2 separate regions of the Homo sapiens genome follow, and region 1 is linked to region 2. The links are contacts of gene promoters, found by promoter capture Hi-C in human tissues and cell types (Jung and others, 2019). All regions are on one chromosome and are shown on one strand. The core of a region is centred on a gene start or on the middle of the fragment in contact, and the rest is flanking DNA. Distances in the headings are between cores, read along the strand shown. Region 1 has its middle 150 kb from the start of PCDH10. Region 2 holds the start of PCDH10 (protocadherin 10).

The links. The method cuts DNA at HindIII sites, captures the fragments that hold promoters and counts their contacts. A contact is called where the count stands out against the background at its distance.
Region 1: a fragment that was not itself captured here is called in contact with the fragment with the promoter of PCDH10 in region 2 in 1 of the 25 tissues and cell types used here (mesendoderm cells).

What each region holds. Positions count from the first base shown.
Region 1 is chr4:133,301,551-133,305,459 of GRCh38, reverse strand. No RefSeq gene overlaps it. Among named protein-coding and RNA genes, the nearest start is that of PCDH10, 150 kb to the right of the region's middle. The HindIII fragment of the contact is 8,155 bases long and covers 1-3,909 here.
Region 2 is chr4:133,147,556-133,151,623 of GRCh38, reverse strand. PCDH10 (protocadherin 10) reads right to left here and starts at 2,330. Exons shown (of 5, transcript NM_032961.3): 1 at 1-2,330. The coding sequence starts at 1,483. PCDH10-DT (PCDH10 divergent transcript) reads left to right here and starts at 2,508. Exons shown (of 9, transcript NR_125885.1): 1 at 2,508-2,595. RefSeq lists a silencer at 2,277-2,416 and an enhancer at 2,527-2,586. The HindIII fragment of the contact is 10,822 bases long and covers 1-4,068 here.

The sequences.
Region 1 (3,909 bases), core at 763-3,262, 150 kb before region 2:
TTTTTAAAATCCTTACAAATGTCCAACAGGTATATAAAAAAGGTACTAGGGCCGGGCACAGTGGCTCACGCCTGTAATCCCAGCACTTTGTGAAGCTGAGGCAGGTGGATCACCTGAGGTCAAGAGTTCGAGACCAGCCTGGCCAACATGGAGAAACCCCGTCTCTACTAAAAATGCAAAAATTAGCCAGGCATGGTGGCATGCACCTGTAATCCCAGCTACTTGGGAGGCTGAGGCATAAAAATTGCTTGAACCCAGAAGGTGGGGGTTGCAGTGAGCCAAGATCGCACTGCTATACTCCAGCCTATGCAATGGAGTGAGACTCCGTCTCAAAAAATAATAATAATAAAATGCTAAACATCACTAATCATCAGGTAAATGCAAATCAAATCAAAAAGAGATATCCCTTATTTGTGTTAGAATACTATATTTGTCAGCGTTCTCTAAAGGGATAGGACTAATAGGATATATGTATACATGAAGAGGAGTTTATTGGGAGAATTGACTCACAAGAACACAAGGTGAAGTCCCAAGATATGTCATCTGCAAGCTGAGGAGTGAGGAAGCCAGTCCAAGTCCCAAAAGCTCAAAAGTGTGGAAACAAATAGTGCAGCCTTCAGTCTGTGGCTGAAAGCCCCAGAGCCCCTGTCAGATCACTGGTGTAAGTCCAAGAGTCCAAGAGATGAAGAACTTGGAGTCTGATGTTCGAGGGCAGGAAGCATTCATCAAGGGAGACAAACAGAGGTCAGAAGACTCAGCTAGTCTGCCCTTTCCGATTTCTTCAGCCTGCTTTATTCTAGCTGCACTGGCAGCTGATAAGATGGTGCCCACCCAGATTGAAAGTGGGTCTGCCTCTCCTGGTCCACAGACTCAAATGTTAATCTCGTTTGGCAACACTCTCACAGACACACCCAGGAACAATACTTTGCATTCTTCAATCCAATCAAGTTGAAACTCAATATTAACCACCACAGCTAGCTATTATAAAAAAATCCAAAAGATAACACGTGTTGGAAAGGATATGGGGAAAAGGTGATCTTTATAGATTGTTTATGGGAATATATATTAATACGGCCATTATGAAAAGTAGTATGGAACTTTCTAAAAAATAAATAATAGAACGGTAATACCATGTGAGCAAGGAACCTCACTTCTGGGTATATATTAGAAGAAAATAAAATCACTATCTTGAAGAGACATTTGCACTCTCATGTTATAATGACATTACACACAATAGCCAAGATATGAAAATAAACTAAGTGTTCATTGATGGATGAATGAATAAAGAAATATATATGAATATGTGGATGAATAATATTCCATTATATTTGTGACCTGTATACCATCATATATATGATTCCATATGAATATCATATATGATCCATATCATATATGATCCATATGAATCATATCATATATATGATGGAATACAGGTCACATATAATGGCATATAATATATACCATTATATAATATTGCATATATATGAGATGAAATACGGGTCACATATATAATGGAATATTACATAATGGTATATATTATATATCATTATATGCCATATATAATATATATAATGGTATATATTATATAATGGTATATATATACACACACACACATATATATATGATCTATCAAGGAATGCTATTCAACCTTAAAAAGAAGCAGATGCTGTTATTTGTAACAACAAAGAAGAATCGGGACAATTTATACTAAGTGAAATAAACGAGACACAGAAAGACAAATACTGCATGATCTCATATGTGGAACCTAAAATAGTTTAACTCATAGATGCAAAGAGTAGAAGGATAACTTACCAGGGGCTGTGGGATGTGGTAGGGTGGGTAAGAGGGAAATGAGGAAGTGTTGGTCAAAAGATACAAACTTGCAGTTATAAATTGAATAAATTCTGGAGATCTGATGGCTAGGGTTAATAATAATGTGAAGTATACAGTTGCCCCTCCATATCCATAGGTTCCACATTTACAGATTCAACCAACTGCGGATCCAAAACATTTGAAAGAAGAATAAAAATAACAATGCAACAAAAATTAATACAAATAAAAAATACAATGTAATAATTATAATATTTACATAGCATTTACATTTCATTAGGTATTATAAGTATTCTAGAGATGTTTAAAGTATACAAGCGGCTGTGTGTATGTAATATGCAAATACTACACCATTTTATATAAGGGTATCGAACATCTGTGCATTTTGGTATCTGTCAAGGGTCCTGGAACCAATCCCAGTGTTCAATACAGAGGGAAGATTGTATTTGAAATTTGCTAAGAGAATAAATCTTATATATTGTCACCACACATGTATACACAAAAAGTTAACTATGTGTGGTGATGGGTATGTTAATTACCCTATTGTTCTAATTATTTAACATTGTATATGTATATCAAAACACCACATTGTACATCTTCTATATATATATGTATGTATATATATATGACTTTTATTTTCCAATTATACTTTAATAGAGCTGGAAAAAAATCTATATCACTTTCCCATTGTCAGATGAATATCTATTACTTCATCTTTTTCTATTTAAACATTCTATTTTCAAAGATAAAATCAAAAGCAGAGCTGCGTGGAAGCACTCTCTGTGCCAAGTTGCTTTGGGGTTATAGCTGGACATCTTCCTAGCTAATGGCCATCTAGAAAGCCCTAAGGAAAGTTTCAGAAATACATAAGGAAATGTATTGTGGTGGAGAGGACTAAAAAGAATAGAGAGAGATGATATAAAATATTTCCTAGCAATTTATTACTTGAAGTTATATTTAATCAGTGACATTATGTTATACATACACTAAAGGTATTTGTTAAAACATTAAATGCACATATGTATTCTCAAATTTCTACTTAAATGTGGAGATATAAAAATAATGCTTTGATACATGACCTCTTTTTAATATTTGCTAAAAACTCTTTGCAAGAAGTATCAGGTGTGTAGATCAGAGAAGTGATAATTAGCAAGGTTTCTACTCTACTTAATCTTACACTTCAGCTGCATAAAATGAGGTGTTAGCTTTCTAAATTTATCCAAATGAACATCAGACTAAGCTATAAAATGCAGAAAGAAAACGCCATGAGAAAGTTGGTGAATTACGTCAAATTTCACTGCTGAAATACACATAAAGATTATATGCTATTTCAATTTTATTTTATTAATCTCTTTCATTTAATGGTTAGTTTGGAAGGAGGAGCATCTGGATGTAATGAATTTACATGTATTGATTTCTCTTCTTCCAAATATATTGTTCATATAACACAAAATGAATCATTTTTTATTTCTTGGAAAGAGTGCTGCTGAATATGCAAACAATGACACATCTTTGAAGTAATAGATTACAGGAGATTACTGAATTTTAAAAGCAAGGCTAATATAGACCCTATGCTATGTACAACAAAGGGCCAAAGATGATTGAGTCAATTTCATCCTGTGGAAGGTATCCTCTTATCTGTAGAATTTCAGCCTTATAAATTCTTGTTACAGAGAAAGATCCCAGTAAAGAGACGATACATTTCTAGAGTTCTAAACTAGAGATAACAGCTCTGGGCAGGAAATTTGGCTTAAATTTTACATATAATGTTACCCAGCTTTCTCCCTTATGATATGTTCTAAAATAAATTCTATCTACCCATACATTTATTTATTTATTCACCAGATATTTTAAGCAGCTATTAAAGGATATGGATGAAACAGGTATGGTACTTGTCATCAAATATCTTGGTTTAAAGGTCAGAATCATCATAGAATTTTTGAAAAATATAAATAAAATCATTAATAAAAATAACTTGTTGTTTATTTAGAATTAACATATACTGGTATTTTGCCAAGCATTTTGCATACACAATTTAAATATGTGTACTACTCTCTTAGATGTGAGTGAAGAAAAACC
Region 2 (4,068 bases), core at 1,081-3,580:
TGGCGCCCTCATCCCGGTCGGTGGCGCTCACCGCGTAGATGTAGGCGCCAGGCACGTTGTTTTCAGTCACATACACGTCGTAGACCGGCTGGCTGAAACGCGGCGCGTTGTCGTTCACATCCGACACTTGTACCTGGATCGACTTACTGGTGGAGAGCGCAGGCTCGCCCCGGTCCCGAGCCACTACAGTCAGGGTGTAGGAGTCCCCCGCCTCTCGGTCCAGGGGGGCTTCGGTAACGATGGTGTAGTAATTCTTAAAGGAAGACTTGAGGCGGAAAGGCACGTCTCCCAGTAGCTCGCACTGCACCTGCCCATTCTCCTCTGAGTCGCGGTCAGTCACGCTGAAAAGGGCCACCACAGTGCCGGGCGCCGCGCCCTCACTCACCGCTTCCTTCACGGTGCTGAAGCTGATCTCTGGCGCGTTGTCATTAGCATCCAGTACTCGCACTAGCACCTTGCAGTGCGCAGGCACGGCGTTGGGGCCCAGGTCCTTGGCTTGCACGTACACTTGGTACACTGGGCTCTCTTCATAGTCCAACTCGCCGCTTACCTCCAGTCTGCCAGTGCGCGGCGAGAGTCCGAAAAGCTCCCGCGCCCGGGGCGAAATGTGGCTGCTGAAGGAGTACACGACCTCACCGTTCTGGCCCTCGTCCGGGTCGGTGGCGTTGAGCTGGATCACGAGAGTGCCTGGGGGAGAGTTCTCTGGTAGGGACACAGTGTAGACGGGTTGGTCGAAAGCGGGCACATTGTCATTGGAGTCCAGCACTCGGATGGTGAGTAGGGCCGTGCCGGTGCGCTGCTGCTGGGGGGGCAGGCCTGCTCCCCCGCCACCTCCCCCTCCTTCTCCTACTCCTCCCCCACCTCCTCCGTCCACCGCGGTCAGCACGTAGCGGTGCACCGCTTGCTGCTCTCGGTCCAGTGGCTTCTCCAGCACCAGCTCAGCGAATCGGTTGCCATCCCCCTGGGTCTGCACGTCCAGGGAGAAGTAGCTGTTGGGGGTGATCTCGTAGTCGCGCAAGGAGTTGGTGCCCACGTCTGGGTCGAATGCGCTCTCCAAGGGGAAGCGAGTGCCTGGCGTGGCGCTCTCAGAGATTTCCACCGTCAGGTCTGGCTCCGGGAAAGAGGGGGGGTTGTCATTAATGTCCAGCACCTCGATCTCCACCTGGAACAGCTCCAGGGGGTTCTCCAGAAAGACCTCCAGGTGCAGGACACAGGAGGGGCTCTGTTTGCAGATTTGTTCGCGGTCTATTTTCTCGTTCACGTACAGCACCCCTGTCTCCAGGTTGAGGTCTAAGTAAGGGGTCCTTGAGTTGGGCACCGTCTGAAACCCGCGAGCCGAAAGTTTTGTAATGTCCAGACCCAGATCTTCAGCGATATTCCCCACGAAAGTGCCATGTTCCTGCTCCTCCTGTACCGTGTAGTGAAGCTGGGAAAAGACTCCTTCCACCATCCAGAGCAAGGCAAACAATAATAGCACAATCATCTCCAAAAGGAAAGGAAGTAGCTTCCCGCAGCCAGTCAGCCACCCAATCACCTCCCCCACCACCACGAAACAAAAAAAAATCTGAAAAAATACAAATAAAAGTGCGCTACGTGGGGGCTCCTGTGGCTTTCTGTCTTTAAAAATCTTACTCCTTTTGCTTCATTTTAGAGCTTCCCGCAATCCAGCCTCATTTTTTTTTAAATCTTAGCACAGGAAGGGTGACAGGCGTCCCCTTTCCTCATCTGTAATCTTTCCACTGACTAATTAATAAAATAACAATAATACAATAGTCAGCGTCCTTTATTCCGACAGTCTTGGCGCTGGCAAATCCCAAAGAGGAAATTTCGATATTTCAAGACTGTCCTCGGTTTGTCTTCTTGCTGATGGGAGGAGAACGAGGAGGAGGAAAAAGAGGAGGAGGAGGAGGAAGAAGAAGAAGAGGAAGAGGAGAAGGAAAAGGAGATGCTGTTGGCACCGTTAAACATGCCTCTTAATGTCAACGGCTGGCAAATGCAAAAGGGCTTAAAATCAGCGATATAATTTTGTGCCGGAAAAGCACAGAACGGCTCTGCAGCTTAAAACTTTCATTCTCTTCATTTCTCCGGATGGATGTTCTTCTTGACATTTTTTTCCTCTTTCGCTCTATTTGTATTTTTTGTCTTTCAGAGTCTTGGTTCCCTCTGTCCTCATCTCCACCGTTACTTGCCTCTCTGTAAGTGTAATGAGCAGTTTCTTTTCTGCTGTTTTCTTCCCAAGCCTCTTTCCCTCTAACCTGTCTCTTTTTCCTTCCAGTCCTTCCTTCCTCCTGCTTCAGCCTCTGAGCCTGTGGTCTGGGCTGGCAGTTTCTGAGCTCCGAGCGCTCGGCTTCTCCGTTTTTGCGCAGCGCCCTCATTCTGCCAACCAATCGCCCAGGAGCACCACCCACCGAGCTGCCGATGATTGGCCAAACTGGCCGCCAAACAGACACGTCACGCGGCAGCCGGGCGGGGCGGGACAGAACTCTCGCCCGAGCGGCCGGGGTGAGTGTGAGTGTGAGAGCGAGAACAGCCCCGCAGGTCCCGAGGCGCTGGCTGGGGACAATGCCGCGGAAAGTTCCCAGTCCCCAGCCGCAGGTAATGGGGAGGGAATAGAGAGGTTCCCCTGTTTGCATCAGCAAATGCGAAAACATAATAGCAACAGCTGCGATATCCTCTCCTAGGAGCGGGATTTCCAATGATGCTAACATTCTTTTTCCTTTAAGGTATTTTCCCTAATACGCATCATGGAAATAAATCATCGAGAAGGGAAAAAGTAGCGCAGGGCCCACTAATTGGCAAGGGTTACCTAATTAAGGGACCCTAGCAGAGACTGGCAGGGCATTTTAAAAGTGAGTATTATATGGCATGTGTCAATCTAAAGGTGAGGGGGTCTGACGGGGCCGTGAGGAAAGGCGCGAAGCATACGGAGTAGGGGGTGGAGGTGACTCCTAAAAAGCGGAGGAATTCACGCTAAAGGATGTGGGGATGACAGCGCTTACAGACGGGCAGACGCGTTCGACGTGCTTCTTTCCTCCCAAAATACATATTCACAAAATACTTACCAAGTAGATTAACTCACTCGAGGACCTAGCTTCGAGCCGTGAGCGCGTTCATCAGTGACTGAGGAGTTGATTTGAGCCGCTTCCTACAAGCCCGCCATCCTAACGCCGGGCTCTGGGGCATCCGGCACACAGCACCGCCAAGCGCTGCAAAGCGCCTCTGATATCCCTGCGCCTTGTGCGGCCAAGTGCCACGCAGCGGCTGGGAACACCGGCTATTTTCTATTTTTTTTTTGGCAATTGGAGATCGATCCCTTTACCCACCATGCTAGATTAGACCACTGATTTCTGCCAATCCTGGGGTCAGCCCGCGGGATGAGGACAGTGGGGCGGCGGCGAACGCGGGCGGGGTGGTGGGCAGGGCCCGTGCACACGAGGGGCCCGAGTGTGCACCGCTGCGGGTATCTGCGAACACGTTTGCACATGCACGGTACTTGCATCCATCCTCCCTGGCCCAGGGCTTAGCTCTGTGTAAGCCCCAACGGAGCCTCCCCGAGTTCCGAAGGACGCGCTTGACCAGCTGTGAGTGCCCCTTCCGGAGGCGCAGGGGCAACGCGGCACATCCACATAGCTAGTTCTTGTGAAGTTAAAACACAGCGCGAACTCTTTAATGCTGGAGAGTGGATAGAATGCCAGTTCTCTAAGGAAAGATCTATAAATATATATTTTTAATTAATGGGCCACTAGCAAGGAATTGGTTGTTTATTCACGAAAGAAGCCCCTATTCAATCTCCTTTTTATGCAAAGAGATAGGAAGGTCCTTTGCTGCTTTCTGGTAATGAATGACCCAAGAATACACCACCACAACCTGCGGGAAAAGTAGAGTCGTTTTCCGACCTGGAGATACGTTGCCATTTCCTCCTGGCAAGGAGTTAAGGAGGGCTAGTGTCCATGGGCGTGATAGTAGCCTGAGACGTGCTTCTGAGAGTCCCGCGAATGCACGTCTACTGCCCTGATTTCCGCGCCCCAACTCCCCGCAACGCCGGGTCCCCCCGGCCCCCGCACTTGG